5 separate regions of the Homo sapiens genome follow, and all the other regions are linked to region 1. The links are contacts of gene promoters, found by promoter capture Hi-C in blood cells and fetal thymus (Javierre and others, 2016). All regions are on one chromosome and are shown on one strand. The core of a region is centred on a gene start or on the middle of the fragment in contact, and the rest is flanking DNA. Distances in the headings are between cores, read along the strand shown.

Evidence for each region. The method cuts DNA at HindIII sites, captures the fragments that hold promoters and counts their contacts. A CHiCAGO score of 5 or more calls a contact.
Region 2: a fragment that was not itself captured here is called in contact with the fragment with the promoter of STXBP6 in region 1 in 2 of 17 cell types (M2 macrophages and endothelial precursors); the score reaches 5.2 in M2 macrophages.
Region 3: a contact is called between a fragment that was not itself captured here and the fragment with the promoter of STXBP6 in region 1, in 4 of 17 cell types (M1 macrophages, M0 macrophages, monocytes and 1 more). The highest score is 8.2, in M1 macrophages.
Region 4: a contact is called between a fragment that was not itself captured here and the fragment with the promoter of STXBP6 in region 1, in 1 of 17 cell types (monocytes). The highest score is 5.2, in monocytes.
Region 5: a fragment that was not itself captured here is called in contact with the fragment with the promoter of STXBP6 in region 1 in 3 of 17 cell types (monocytes, M1 macrophages and M0 macrophages); the score reaches 7.4 in monocytes.

The regions. Positions count from the first base shown.
Region 1 is chr14:25,048,742-25,051,441 of GRCh38, reverse strand. STXBP6 (syntaxin binding protein 6) reads left to right here and starts at 1,295. Exons shown (of 6, transcript NM_001394410.1): 1 at 1,295-1,564. It overlaps LOC124903295 (a long non-coding RNA gene), which reads right to left and starts at 1,098. Exons shown (of 2, transcript XR_007064091.1): 1 at 1,008-1,098. The HindIII fragment of the contact is 7,485 bases long and covers 1-2,700 here.
Region 2 is chr14:24,773,815-24,776,514 of GRCh38, reverse strand. No RefSeq gene overlaps it. Among named protein-coding and RNA genes, the nearest start is that of GZMB, 140 kb to the right of the region's middle. The HindIII fragment of the contact is 4,019 bases long and covers 1-2,700 here.
Region 3 is chr14:24,754,220-24,756,927 of GRCh38, reverse strand. No RefSeq gene overlaps it. Among named protein-coding and RNA genes, the nearest start is that of GZMB, 120 kb to the right of the region's middle. The HindIII fragment of the contact is 5,821 bases long and covers 1-2,708 here.
Region 4 is chr14:24,642,415-24,645,114 of GRCh38, reverse strand. GZMH-AS1 (GZMH and GMZB antisense RNA 1) reads right to left here. Exons shown (of 3, transcript XR_007064087.1): 3 at 1-1,850. Among named protein-coding and RNA genes, the nearest start is that of GZMB, 9.6 kb to the right of the region's middle. The HindIII fragment of the contact is 5,423 bases long and covers 1-2,700 here.
Region 5 is chr14:24,695,584-24,698,283 of GRCh38, reverse strand. No RefSeq gene overlaps it. Among named protein-coding and RNA genes, the nearest start is that of GZMB, 63 kb to the right of the region's middle. The HindIII fragment of the contact is 3,642 bases long and covers 1-2,700 here.

The sequences.
Region 1 (2,700 bases), core at 46-2,545:
AACCCTCTTTCCTATTTCACTATGCTAATGCTTACCCCTTGCACTCCAAACAAGCAGGTCTGTGTACCACCATCTAACACCCCAACAGGGCCAGGCTAGGGTGAGGTGAGTCACAGCACTTAAAGGTTCACCAAAGAATTCAGTAATCAAGGTTAATATTTTAATGGAATATTTAAAAAAATCAAAATTAATATCAAAAATGCATGATGAAAAATAACAAAATTTTAAATAAAGACAGGGTAAGTTTAGGGGTTTTTCCTATTGCTTCAGGCTCAAAAGTGCCTTCCGGGGCACTGTTATCGGCCCTGCAGTGACTCCCCACACAGATACTTTTACTAATGATGTTTCCCAAAAGTTAGTTCTTACAACCGCTTTCTACATTAGTAACGTCTTTCTTCTTGAACGCTCCAGCATTTAAGTGTAGCGCTCTACTGTCAGGAAAACCCATTTCCCCTAGTAACTAGTAGTACTTCGAAGATATTCTGAATCATCTTGGATCCTTTCCAGCACTTTCCCAAACCACAGTGAGCACTCAGCACCACTTCGCTAAAAGAGTGCAGAATCACAATGCTCAAATCACTGTCTGGGGGGTTCAGCAGGGAGGGGACGCAGATATGTTTTGTTTAGTCCAGGGTGTTTTGAGAAAATTGAATTTGTTATCAAGATTTTACAAATCAGGATATTGTACATGAATATACTCCGTCATTTCTGGAAAAATCAGAAAATCTAGCAACACTAGGTCTAATTCTTGCCCGATAGCAAGGGACCCTGAGAGCAGATAAGCGGCCCTGCCTTCGGAGCTCTCTCCAGTTCGCCTTCCCCCAGTTACAGTGCCTGTCAGGCCCCATTAGATCTTTGAGTTTGCTATCGTAAGAATAAAGGAAGGAGCGCACAGGATAAAAACCCATCGGCTGGGTCTATTCGTTTTTTCCTAGAGAAAAAAAAAAATGTTTCCTGGTTGTCCTTTCGAATATAGTCTCACAGAGAAGCTCACAGAAGCAGCCCACCTTTCTAGCCCACAAACTTCCCACAAGCCGTGAAAGTCGCACCGGCTCTTGCACCCAGATCGGTTTCTCCCGGGTCTTTGGCTCAGGGCCCCCGCCCCTACATTGGCCTTTCCCTTCCTCTGCCACCTCCGCGCTCCGAGGCCTGGGGCGGGTCGCGGGTCCCGGCCCCCAGCCCCCAGCCCCTAGCCGCTGCTCTTTGCCCCGGGCCAGGGCGCTCGGGCTCGCCCACGGCGGCACTGAGCATGCTCAGAGGCGGCCGCGCGGGCAGGTTTGCTTCGCAGGCGCTCGCACTCGGCGGCGGGCGGGCGCGCGGCTGCAGCTGGAGCTCCAGCGCCCGGAGTTGGAGTTGCCGGGAGTTTCCCCCCAACCCCTCCCTTTTCGCGCGCGGCAGCAGGAGCCGGCGCGGGAGCCGCGAGCGGCGGCGAGCCAGCACCCGGGCCGGCTAAGCCTTGTCCGGAGCCCGGAGCCCCGCGCGGGGCAGCCCCCCGGGGAGGAGCCTCGTGCTCTGGGACGCGTGCCGCGCACTGGCACGGCAGGGGCGCGAGCCAGGCTGCACGGTAGGACCGGGGCGAGGGGAGCCAGGCGGTCAGGGCGGAGGCCAAGCCCGGGAGATGCGGTTGCAGCCGCCACGGCTGTTGGGGCGCCTGGCGCTCCGTCCGAGGCGGGTGGCTGTGAGGCCAGGGGAGTAGGCAGGCTCCCAGAGAGATTCTTCCAAGTTGGCGGGTGGCGGGAGAGGGGGCCGCGCGCCCCGGCGCAGCTGCTTTGTGCGCGCAGAGAGGGACTCGTGTCCCTGGTTCTCTCCAACCCTGGGACCCGTTGTGCGGGCAGTATTGGGCAAGCCGCAGAACGGAGCGATTTCCTCCGAGAAAGTTGAGGATGGAGCCTTTTTTTCCGCACCGTCCCCGCGATGGCATGGGCCCCGAGAATGCTGCCCCGAGGCTCCCAGTGTGGGGGAGCTCGGGGTCGCTGCGCCTCTAGCTTGAGCGCAGAAATCCGCGAATCACTCCGATCTTCGCGAACTCTGGCATCTTCTAGGAAAATCATTACTGCCAAAACTGAGGCGAGCTTTTCTGGCGGGCACGGCACCCTGCCCCCAGGGCGCTGGCCCTGGGCGATGCCCCCTTTCCGATCTCAGGCTTGGTCAAGGGCGCCAGGTTCCGAATTCGCGCTTGCCGTGCACGCCGGCATCGAGCCTCACCAACACCGCCGGGCAACGTGGCTGGAGTAGGTGGGTGGCTTGATTTTCCCTCCAACCTTTCCTCAGGTTTACAACACCCCGCCACCTCACCACCCCACCCCGTTCATCTTCACAGAGGACAGGACCTGCAGGTGGAGAATTTGGAAAGACATCTTGTTCTTTAGGAGAAAGTCCCCGGGGTGTATCTGCCCTTGGTTCTGGCCCCAGGATTTCATAACGAACCTTCTCCCCTTCCTATTACGCTTCCCTAGGGACTGGGTGGGAGAGAATAGGATCGGTAGGTCCGCAGGAACTTCCATCTCATTCCACCCTCTCCTAAGATTGCCTTCCGGGCGACCCCAGGACCCTGGAACTGGCATTGTGCGGATTGTAAGGCTGTGGAGGATGCCGACGAATTTTTCCTGGCTCCACTTTTTTCACTTCTTGTTTTGAGTTTTGGGGTTTTGCCTGCACACTAGTCAGAGCTGCGCCCTAGTCAGAGCCACCCTGGGGGTG
Region 2 (2,700 bases), core at 8-2,507, 270 kb after region 1:
TTGTCTTTTGTGTTCTTCTTCTAAATGTGTATGTATTTCTAAAATCCATCTTGTTTAGCACTCTACAAGCCCTTTCAGCCTGAGATATTAACATATTGTATATCAGCTTTCCGTTGCTGTATAATAAACATGCCAGAACTTGGTGGCTTAACAAGCAACCTTTTCGTTTTCTGTGATTCTATGGGTTAACAATTTGGGCTGGGTTCTGCTCGTGGCTCTTCACAGTCAGCTACTTGTCAGCTAAATGGCTCTGCTTCTAGTGTCAATTGGCAGTCAGCGAATAATAAAAGAATGAGGGCCACTGGGCCATGTGTTTCTCATCATCCATCTGGCTAGCTTGGGCTCACTCACAGAGTGGCTCAGCTTCAGAAAGCAACAAAAGATGGTAAGTCCCAGTGTGCCGCCCTTTTCAAATCTCTGCTTGCGTCAATTTTGCCCTTTTCTCATTGGCTAAAACAAGTCACCTGGCTACGCCTAGAATGTGGTCTGGGAGAGGACTACCAACGCGCATGGCTGTAGGGAGGTGAAACAACGTGGGGGCCATTTTTGCAAAATCTACCACATCATCCTTTAATTCTGAAAAAATCTTGATGACTTTTCAAAGTATTTTCTCACCGATACTTATTTTTGCTCTCTCCCTCTGAGACCCCTAACATACAAATATTAACTTCTATTTTTCTCCTTCATGTCTCTTAACTTTTACTTGGATAGTTTGTTTAACTGTTTTAATCTCTGTGGGAGGGTTCTTGACCTGATTTTTTACTTTATGTGTTCATTTCATGACTACGTGCATTCTGTTTTGTTCTCAAGTGATCTGTTGAGTTCCTTATGTTAACAATTATATTTTTCATTCCTAGCATCTTCAGTCAGTTTTTCTTTGACTGTTTTTGCTTCCTGTCTCCAGAATCCTCCGTTACCCTAGTATAGGATATTATCTTATACCATATTATCCTAGTATAGAGTACTTCCTATACTTATTTTAAATTTGGTTCTGTCTGGTTTATTAAGTCTGAGTCTTTGCTTTCTGGTTTCCTTTTGTTGCTTTATTTGAGGGTGCAGATATATTGTCACCTTTTCTCTAAGACTCATATTACCCTGAGAATATCAACTGCCTTGGCTGATAGTGGGCTTATGAAAGAAAGGGTCCTTGCTCAGGGCCGAAGGCTGAGGTCCTTGCTTATGCCTCCGCTGGTGAGTTTGGGAGCTGGCACGGTGCAAGAAAACAAAATTTCTGGGCACCATTTCCTAGATACTCCCCAACTCCCAAATAAGTTACTTCGCCCCTCAAACTACATCCTCCAGTTTTCAGAATAGTAGCTAAGACTGCTTGAGCACTTAGTATGTATCAGTTTCAGTTTTAAGTACTTTTACATGTATTGCATCTTTTAAACCACCTAAAAGGTGGGTAATATTATGGCCACTTTAGAGATGAGAAACAGAGAAAAAAAGGAAGTTTCCTGAAGTCACAGAGAAGTAAATGATGGGGACAGCATTAAAATCTAGGCAGTTTAGCTTCAGAGCCCATGTTCTTAATCTCTATACTACAGAGTGGGGAGGGCTGGAGAAGAGGGACCTGAGAATATCAACTGCCTTGGCTGATAGTGAGTATATGAGAGAGGGTCCCTCTTTCTCCAGCCCTTCGCATTCCATAGTATAAAGATTAAGAGCATGGGTGCTGAAGGCATCAGGACTTCTGCCTGACCCAGTTTTATCTGCTCTCCACCCAGGTGGGCTCTAACACTGCTCTGACGTTACCCTGATGCTTCTAGCTGCTGCTAAGCCAGCAGGGCTGTTTTTCTGCCTGGCAAGAAATTTTCTGCTTGTAGCAATGTGAGAGAATGATCAAGATATAACCAGAAAACTCTTTTCTGTAGTCTGTTCCCAATCTTGGCACCAGATCCTCTACCCCTCTTCACACTCACTGCCCCCACCCCTGCCCCATCATTACATACCCTGAGACCCAATCACCGTCTGCCTCACCAGTATCTTTTTACCTTTTGTGGGGGTTTTATGCTGTGTTATTAGATGCATCCAACTTGTTTATATGACAACTTTGGGGTTGGTTCAGAGGAAGGAGCCAGCATCACATATTAGGTCACCATTTAGGCAGGAAACATCTGTGTATGTAATTTCCGAAGTAACTTATTCACTAATCCTAGCCCCAGCGAACATCTAGCTCCATGAGTGCTGACCTCTCCTCTTCACCAGATATTTCCTTCTGGCTCATATTCAATCCCCAAAATCAACACAGGATTTTTTTGTTATCTTATCAGTCTTTAAAGTTTATTGGCCTTCTGCGAAAATGGATCTCTATACACACTCACATACATGTAAACATCCAGATTCAGGGCTAAAATTGACCTTATAACAGGCAACATTTTTGAGTCCTCCCTTTTCTCCTTCTTAACAGTGATATTTACTCCCTGATTGTTTGAGCATTTTTAACAGTTTTCCTAAATAATACAGGCATATAGATCTCTCTCTAACCACACAGCACTTTTTTTTATTTTATTACTATTATACTTTAAGTTCTGGGATACATGTGCAGAATATGCAGGTTTGTTACATAGGTATACACGTGCCATGGTGGTTTGCTGCACCCATCAACCTGTCATCTACATTAAGTATTTCTCCTAATGCTATCCCTCCCCTAGCCCTCCATCCCCCAACAGGTCCTGGTGTGTGATGTTCCCCTCCATG
Region 3 (2,708 bases), core at 118-2,617, 290 kb after region 1:
ATTTTTTTGTTTGGTAGGCTATTAATTATTGCCTCAATTTCAGAGCCTGTTATTGTTCTATTCAGGGATTCAACTTCTTCCTGGTTTAGTCTTGGGAGGGTGTATGTGTCCAGGAATTTATCCATTTCCTCTAGATTTTCTAGTTTATTCACAAAGAGGAGTTTACAGTATTCTCTGATGGTAGTTTGTATTTCTGTGGGATCAGTGGTGATATCCCCTTTATCATTTTTTACTGCATCTATTTGATTCCTCTCTCTTTTCTTCTTTATTAGTCTTGCTAGCAGTCTATCAATTTTGTTGATCTTTTCGAAAAACCAGCTCCTGGATTCATTGATTTTTTGAAGGGTTTTTTGTGTCTCTAGCTCCTTCAGTTCTGCTCTAATTTTAGTTATTTCTTGTCTTCTGCTAGCTTTCGAATGCGTTTGCTCTTGCTTCTCTAGTTCTTTTAATTGTGATGTTAGGGTATTGATTTTAGATCTTCCCTACTTTCTCTTGTGGGCATTTAGTGCTATAAATTTCCTTCCACACACTGCTTTAAATGTGTCCCAGAGATTCTGGTGCGTTGTGTCTTTGTTCTCATTGGTTTTGAAGAACATCTTTATTTCTGCCTTCATTTCATTATGTACCCAGTAGTCATTCAGGAGCAGGTTGTTCAGTTTCCATGTAGTTTAGTGGTTTTGAGTGAGTTTCTTAATCATGAGTTCAAATTTTAAAATACTGGCAAACCGAATCCAGCAGCACATCAAAAAGCTATCAAACATGATCAAGTGGGCTTCATCCCTGGGATGCAAGGCTGGTTCAATATACACAAATCAATAAATGTAATACATCACATAAAAAGAACCAATGATAAAAACCACATGATTATCTCAATAGAGGCAGAAAAGACCTTAGACAAAATTCAACAGTGCTTCATGCTAAAAACTCTCAATAAACTAGGTATTGATGGAACGTATCTCAAAATAATAAGAGCTATTTGTGACAAACCCATAGCCAGTATCATACTGAAGGGGCAAAAACTGGAAGCATTCCCTTTGAAAACTGGCACAAGACAGGGATGCCCTCTCTCATCACTCCTATTCAACATAGTGTTGGAAGTTCTGGCCAGGGCAATCAGGCAAAAGAAAGAAATAAAGGGTATTCAATTAGGAAAAGAGGAAGTCAAATTGTCCCTGTTTGCAGATGACATGATTGCATATTTAGAAAACCCCATCGTCTCGGCCCAAAATCTCCTTAAGCTGATAAGCAACTTCAGCAAAGTCTCAGCATACAAAATCAATGTACAAAAATCGCAAGCATTCTTATACACCAATAACAGACAAACTGAGAGCCAAATCATGAGTAAACTCCCATTCACAACTGCTACAAAGAGAATAAAATACCTAGGAATCCAACTTACAAGGGATGTGAAGGACCTCTTCAAGGAGAACTACAAACCACTGCTCAAGGAAATAAAAGAGGACACAAACAAATGGAAGAACATTCCATGCTCATGGGTAGGAAGAATCAATATTGTGAAAATGGCCACACTGCCCAAGGTAATTTATAGATTCAATGCCATCCCCATCAAGCTACCAATGACTTTCTTCACAGAATTGGAAAAAACTACTTTAAAGTTCATATGGAACCAAAAAGGAGCCCGCATTGCCAAGTCAATCCTAAGCCAAAAGAACAAAGCTGGAGGCATCAAGCTACCTGACTTCAAACTATGCTACAAGGCTACAGTAACCAAAACAGCATGGTACTGTTACCAAAATAAAGATGTAGACCAATGGAACAGAGCAGAGGCCTCAGAAATAACATCACACATCTACAACCATCTAATCTTTTACAAACCTGACAAAAACAAGCAATAGGGAAAGGATTCCCTATTTAAGAAATGGTGCTGGGAAAACTGGATAGCCATATGTGGAAAGCTGAAACTGGATCCCTTCCTTACACCTTATACAAAAATTAATTCAAGATAGATTAAAGACTTAAATGTTAGACCTAAAATCATAAAAACCCTAGAAGAAAAACCTAGGCAATACCATTCAGGACATATGCATGGACAAGGACTTCATGTCTAAAACACCAAAAGCAATGGTAACAAAAGCCAAAATTGACAAATGGGATCTAATTAAACTAAAGAGCTTCTGCACAGCAGAAGAAACTACCATCAGAGTGAACAGGCAACCTAGAGAATGGGAGAAAATTTTTGCAATCTATCCATCTGACAAAGGGCTAATATCCAGAATCTACAAAAAACTTAAACAAATTTACAAGAAAAAACAAACAATCCCATCAAAAAGTGGGCAAAGGATATGAACAGATACTTCTCAAAAGAAGACATTTATGCAGCCAACAGACACACAAAAAACCGCTCATCATCACTGGCCATCAGAGAAATGTAAATCAAAACAACAATGAGATTCCATCTCACAACAGTTAGAATGGCGAGCATTAAAAAGTCACGAAACAACAGATGCTGGAGAGGATGTGGAGAAATAGGAATGCTTTTACACTGTTGGTGGGAGTGGAAACTAGTTCAACCATTGTGGAAGACAGTGTGGCGATTCCTCAAGGATCTAGATCTAGAAATACCATTTGACCCAACGATCCCATTACTGGGTATATACCCAAAGGATTATAAATCATGCTACTATAAAGACACATGCACACGTATGTTTATTGTGGCACTATTCACAATAGCAAAAACTTGGAATCAA
Region 4 (2,700 bases), core at 162-2,661, 410 kb after region 1:
TAGAGATGAATTGTGACTCTACCTCTCATACAAGCCTGAGCCTGGAGGGCACTTGTCCTGTGGGAATGCAGTCACCTGAAGGGTCCCAGAAAGGCTGTCTACAGGTGCACTCATGCCGAGTTCCTTTGTGAGAAACCCCAGCTGTGTCAGCAGTGGTGCATGAGGGGGAGAAGTCCTATTCTCCAAGACCCTTCACAAGCACCAGGGCTGCCTGACTGGTGAGGTAGAGCCACAGACTTCCCCACTGAGCCCAGCACTGCACCTGTCTCTCTGCTGAAAGAAATTTCCCACAATTGTAAAGTTCTGAGACTCAAAGCCTGCCATCTGGATTCCTTTGTCCCACAGGGTGCTCCCTTCATGTGGTGCACTCCTGCTTACCCTAGGAGTAGGAGTCCCTGAGTGCCAGACTACTATGATTGCTGCTGCGGCTCTGGATCTGGCCACCCAATGGGGCTGCTACATTCCAGGCCTGTGCTAGGGAATGTCTGCAAAGGGTCCAGCGATGTGACTTATCCTCAAGTCTCCCAGCAGTGGGTACCAGCACCAGCTCTGATGGGGCTGGCAGAGGAGTAAAGTAAACTCTGTGAGATTCTTTGGTTACAAATAGCCTTAGTGTGCTGGCTTTCTCTAATTTCAGTTGTAGTAGTAATGATCTGGTCATGTGAACAGACTCAAGACCTCCTGGTTAGCCAGGGTGATGCAGGCAATGGTGGTAGCTGTAGTCATGCAAAAGTTTTCTCCTTCCCAGTGCTGTGTTATTCTGCCTACAGATGTTGTAATGGACTATGTTGATTGGCCTATAGCCAGGAGGTGCAGTTGGTGCGAAAGAGCACTGACTGCAGTAGTAGTGGTGGAATTCATGCTTGGCTTATGTGACCAGGGGAGGTACTCTGGTGTCTCAAGCAATGGGCAGGTCCATAACACTCCCGAAAGTTTCTGTCCTTTGTGTTAAGCTACCAGGGTGGGTAAAAAGGCAAACCAGGTCGGGGCTGAGTCAGGCAAGTTCGCGCTCTGGCTATCCACGTGCAGGTGCAATCAGTGGCCCAGTGGGGATCAGAGGGCAGTTCTCTGGATGCTGGGATAATGTTCCAGGGAGGAGTGCAGTTGCCCCTGCCGCACAGAAGAGTCCACACAGGAAGTGGGGAGTACAGGTGGCAGTAAGCCCCACTCAGCCCCTATGCACTTGGCAAGACAGGTCTCAGACCCACAGTGTTCTACTGGCAGCGGCCATCTAGGTTGCAAGCAGGCTGCATTCAGCACTCAAAACTGTCCCAGACCATAAGCCTTCTCTGGCTGCCAAGACAAAAACTGCTCAGGCCATGCCCCTCCTGATCTGCTAGCGAAGCAGGGGCACCCAGCTCCTACACCTGTGGGCACAGCGCACTTCCCACTTGCCCCTCAGTTCTGGTCAAGGAGGTCCATCCCTGCTAGAGATTATATTGTGAATCTCAGTTGGGAGCTTCTCACTCCTCTCAGCCCATGGCCACCGCCTGAGCTAGTTGGCTGACTTCTGCATGGTCCTCTGTGAGGTAGGATCAGGAATGGCTTCCCTCTGTCCCCAGTAGAGTCTAGGAGTGCAAGCAAAGCACATCCTGAAGCTGCTCCTTCTCATATACTCCCCTCAGCTCATTAAATCAGCTCCAGCACTGGGTAGGGTTAAGGTCTTCCCCGTGGCCTGGATTGCCAGGTTCCCCAGTGGGAGTGCATATCCCAGAGGCAGTTTCTCTTCCTTTCACACTCTGAGGACTCAGAGTTTTCTGCCTGGCTCATGGTGTAAGCTGCAGTTTGCCACTTCTTTCAAAGGGTCTGTGGTTTCTTTCAATTTTCCTCTTAAGCTCCTGTGTTGCTTCCTGGAAAAAAAGTTCACAGCGTGAATCTCTACACACTATTTTGTCTTTCCAAATAAGAGAGGCATGCTAACAATGACTTTAATCTACCATCTTGGAAATGAAAACTATCACAGCACTATTCACAATAGCCAAGATATGAAATCATTTAAGTGACTATCAACAGATGAATGGCTAAAGAAAATGTAGTATACAGACACAATGGAGTACTATTCAGCCATGAAAAGAAGAAAATCCTGTCATTTGCAGCAACATGGATGGAACTGGAGGTCATTATGCTAAGTGAAATAATTCAGACACAGAAACATAAATACCACTTTCTAACTCATATATAGGAGCCAAAAAAAAAAATTGAGGTCATAGGCCGGGCGCGGTGGCTTAGGCCTGTAATCCCAGCACTTTGGGAGGCCGAGGCAGGCAGATCACCTGAGGTCAGGAGTTCAAAACCAGCCTCGCCAACATGATGAAACCCTGTCTCTATTAAAAATACAAAAATTAGCCGGGTGCGGTGGTGGGCACCTGTAATCCCAGCTACTCAGTAGGTTGAGGCAGGAGAATCGCTTGGACCCAGGAGGCAGAGGTTGCAGTGAGCTGAGATCATGCCACTGCACTCCAGCCTGGGTGACACAGTAAGACTCCATCTAAAAAAAAAAAAAAAATGAAGTCATAGAAGCAGAGAGTAGAATTGTGGAAGTAGAGAGTAGAATTATTAGAAGCTGGGAAAGGGATAGAGGAAGGGAAGGAGAGGTTGGCTAATGGATTCAAGTTACAGTTAGATAAGAGGAATGAGTTCTACTGCTCTATAGCACTGTAGAGTGAATATAGGTAACAATAATTTATAGTATATTTTCAA
Region 5 (2,700 bases), core at 9-2,508, 350 kb after region 1:
TCGCTTATCTAAAACAACAGATTTTCTTATGGACCAAAAGGCCTGAAACGGAAATATAGACATGAATTCTACATTATTATAGGGAGCCAAAACCATCAGTTATGTATAAGACAGACAGGTCCAACCAGAAGAAAAATTGTAAAATTTGACCCAGAATAGGGCCGGGTGCGGTGGTTCACTCCTGTAATCCCAACACTTTGCGAGGCCGACACGGGCGGATCACGAGGTCAGGAGATCCAGACCATCCTGGCTAACACAGTGAAAGCCCGTCTCTACTAAAAATACAAAAAATTAGCCGGGCGTGGTGGCGGGCGCCTGTAGTCCCAGCTACTTGGGAGGCTGAGGCAGGAGAATGAAGTGAACCTGGGAGGAGGGGCTTGCAGTGAGCTGAGATCGCGCCACTGCACTCCAGCCTGGGTGACAGAGCCAGACGCCATCAAAAAAAAAAAAAAAAAAAAAAAAAAAAAAAAAAATCTGACCCAGAGTATTACTCATTCAGCAGTCATTAGGAAAACTTTTAAAAATTAACACAGGATAGGAGTCAACAGGAGCAAGTTTTGTTACCGAAGAATCAGTCCGTACTGGTGGCTGAAAAACCACTACTCTCCACCGGGCACACCTGTGCGCCTGCCTGAAACCGTGGCTTACCATGCAGCCTACAGGGACACTACATCTTTCTCAGCATGGAGATCCCGCACAACACAGCGAAATACTATGAGTTCTTGTCAGCAATCTTTGTCTCCACACACTTCTTCCACTCACTAACCTTCCACTTACTCCTCCACTCGCTCATTCACCTTCCACTCACTCACTCCTCCACTCACTCATCTTCCACTCACTCATCTTCCACTCACTCACTCCTCCACTCACTCACTCCTCCAGTTACTCATTCCTCCACTCACTCACCTTCCACTCACTCACCTTCCACTCACTCACTCCCCCACTCACTCACCTTCCATCACTCACTCCTCCACTCACTCATCTTCCACTCACTCACTCCTCCACTCACTCATCTTCCACTCACTCATTTTCCACTCACTCACTCCTCCACTCACTCACCTTCCACTCACTCATCTTCCACTCACTCACGTTCCACTCACTCACCTTCCACTCACTTATCTTCCACTCACTTACGTTCCACTCACTCATCTTCCACTCACTCACCTTCCACTCACTCACTCCCCCACTAACTCACCTTTCATCACTCACTTCTCCACTCACTCATGTTCCAATCACTCACTCCTTCACTCACTAATCTTTCACTCACTCATTTTCCACTCACTCACTCCTCCACTCACTCACCTTCCACTCACTCACCTTCCACTCACTCATCTTCAATTCACTCACTCCTCCGCTCACTCACTCCTCCAGTTACTCACTCCTCCACTCACTCACCTTCCACTCACTCACCTTCCACTCACTCACTCCCCTACTGACTCACCTTCCACTCACTCACTCCTCCACTCACTCACTTTCCACTCACTCACCTTCCAGTCACTCACTCCTCCACTCACTCACTCCTGCACTTACTCATTCCTCCACTCACTCACCTTCCACTCACTCACTCACTCACCTTCCACTCACTCACCTTCCACTCACTCACCTTCCATTCACTCACCTTCCACTCACTCCTCCACTCACTCACTCCTCCACTCACTCACCTTCCACTCACTCACTCCCCCACTCATTCACCTTCCACTCACTCACCTTCCACTCACTCACCTTCCACTCACTCACCTTCCACTCACTCCTCCACTCACTCACGTTCCACTCACTCCTCCACTCACTCACCTTCCACTCACTCACTCCTCTGCTCACTCACTCCCCCACTCACTTCTCCACTCACTCACTCCTCCACTCACTCTTCCACTCACTCACTCCTCCACTCACTCACTCCCCCACTCACTCACTCCCCCACTCACTCACTTCTCCACTCACTCCTCCACTCACTCTTCCACTCACTCACTCCTCCACTCACTCACTCCCCCACTCACTCACTCCCCCACTCACTCACTTCTCCACTCACTCCTCCACTCACTCTTCCACTCACTCACTCCTCCACTCACTCACTCCCCCACTCACTCACTCCCCCACTCACTCACTTCTCCACTCACTCCTCCACTCACTCTTCCACTCACTCACTCCTCCACTCACTCACTCTTCCATGCACTTTCTTTTCGCTCACTCATTGTCCACTCATTCTGCCACTCACTGACCCTATACTCCCTCACTCCTCCACTCACTGTAACATAATGTCTCTACCCACCACAGCACTGAAATGGCCCCTGCTAAGACCACTCATGCCCTTGAGAACCTAAATCACTTTTCAACCCTCATTTTACCTGATGTCTTCACATTAGTTACATAGTCCCTCTTTTTTTCCACCCCTTTCGTTAACTCCATAGTTCTGTTTTTTTCTTTTTTCCTCCTTGTTCTTTTGTGGGTCTCCCTTCTTTACAGGACCTTGAAATATGGTAGTGTGCTGGGTTATAATCTAGGCCTCAACTTTACTCTTCCCTGGGGCTCGTCTCAGTGACTCATGGATGTGTATATTTAGCACAGAACTCCCTTGTGAGCTCCAGATTCATGTGCTTCTCTGCATATTTCCCTGACATCTGAAATTCAACTTGTTCAAAATTTCACTTGTGTTCTATTTATTCACCACATCACCAACCTGGCTTTTCTCTGGTGTTTGCTCTG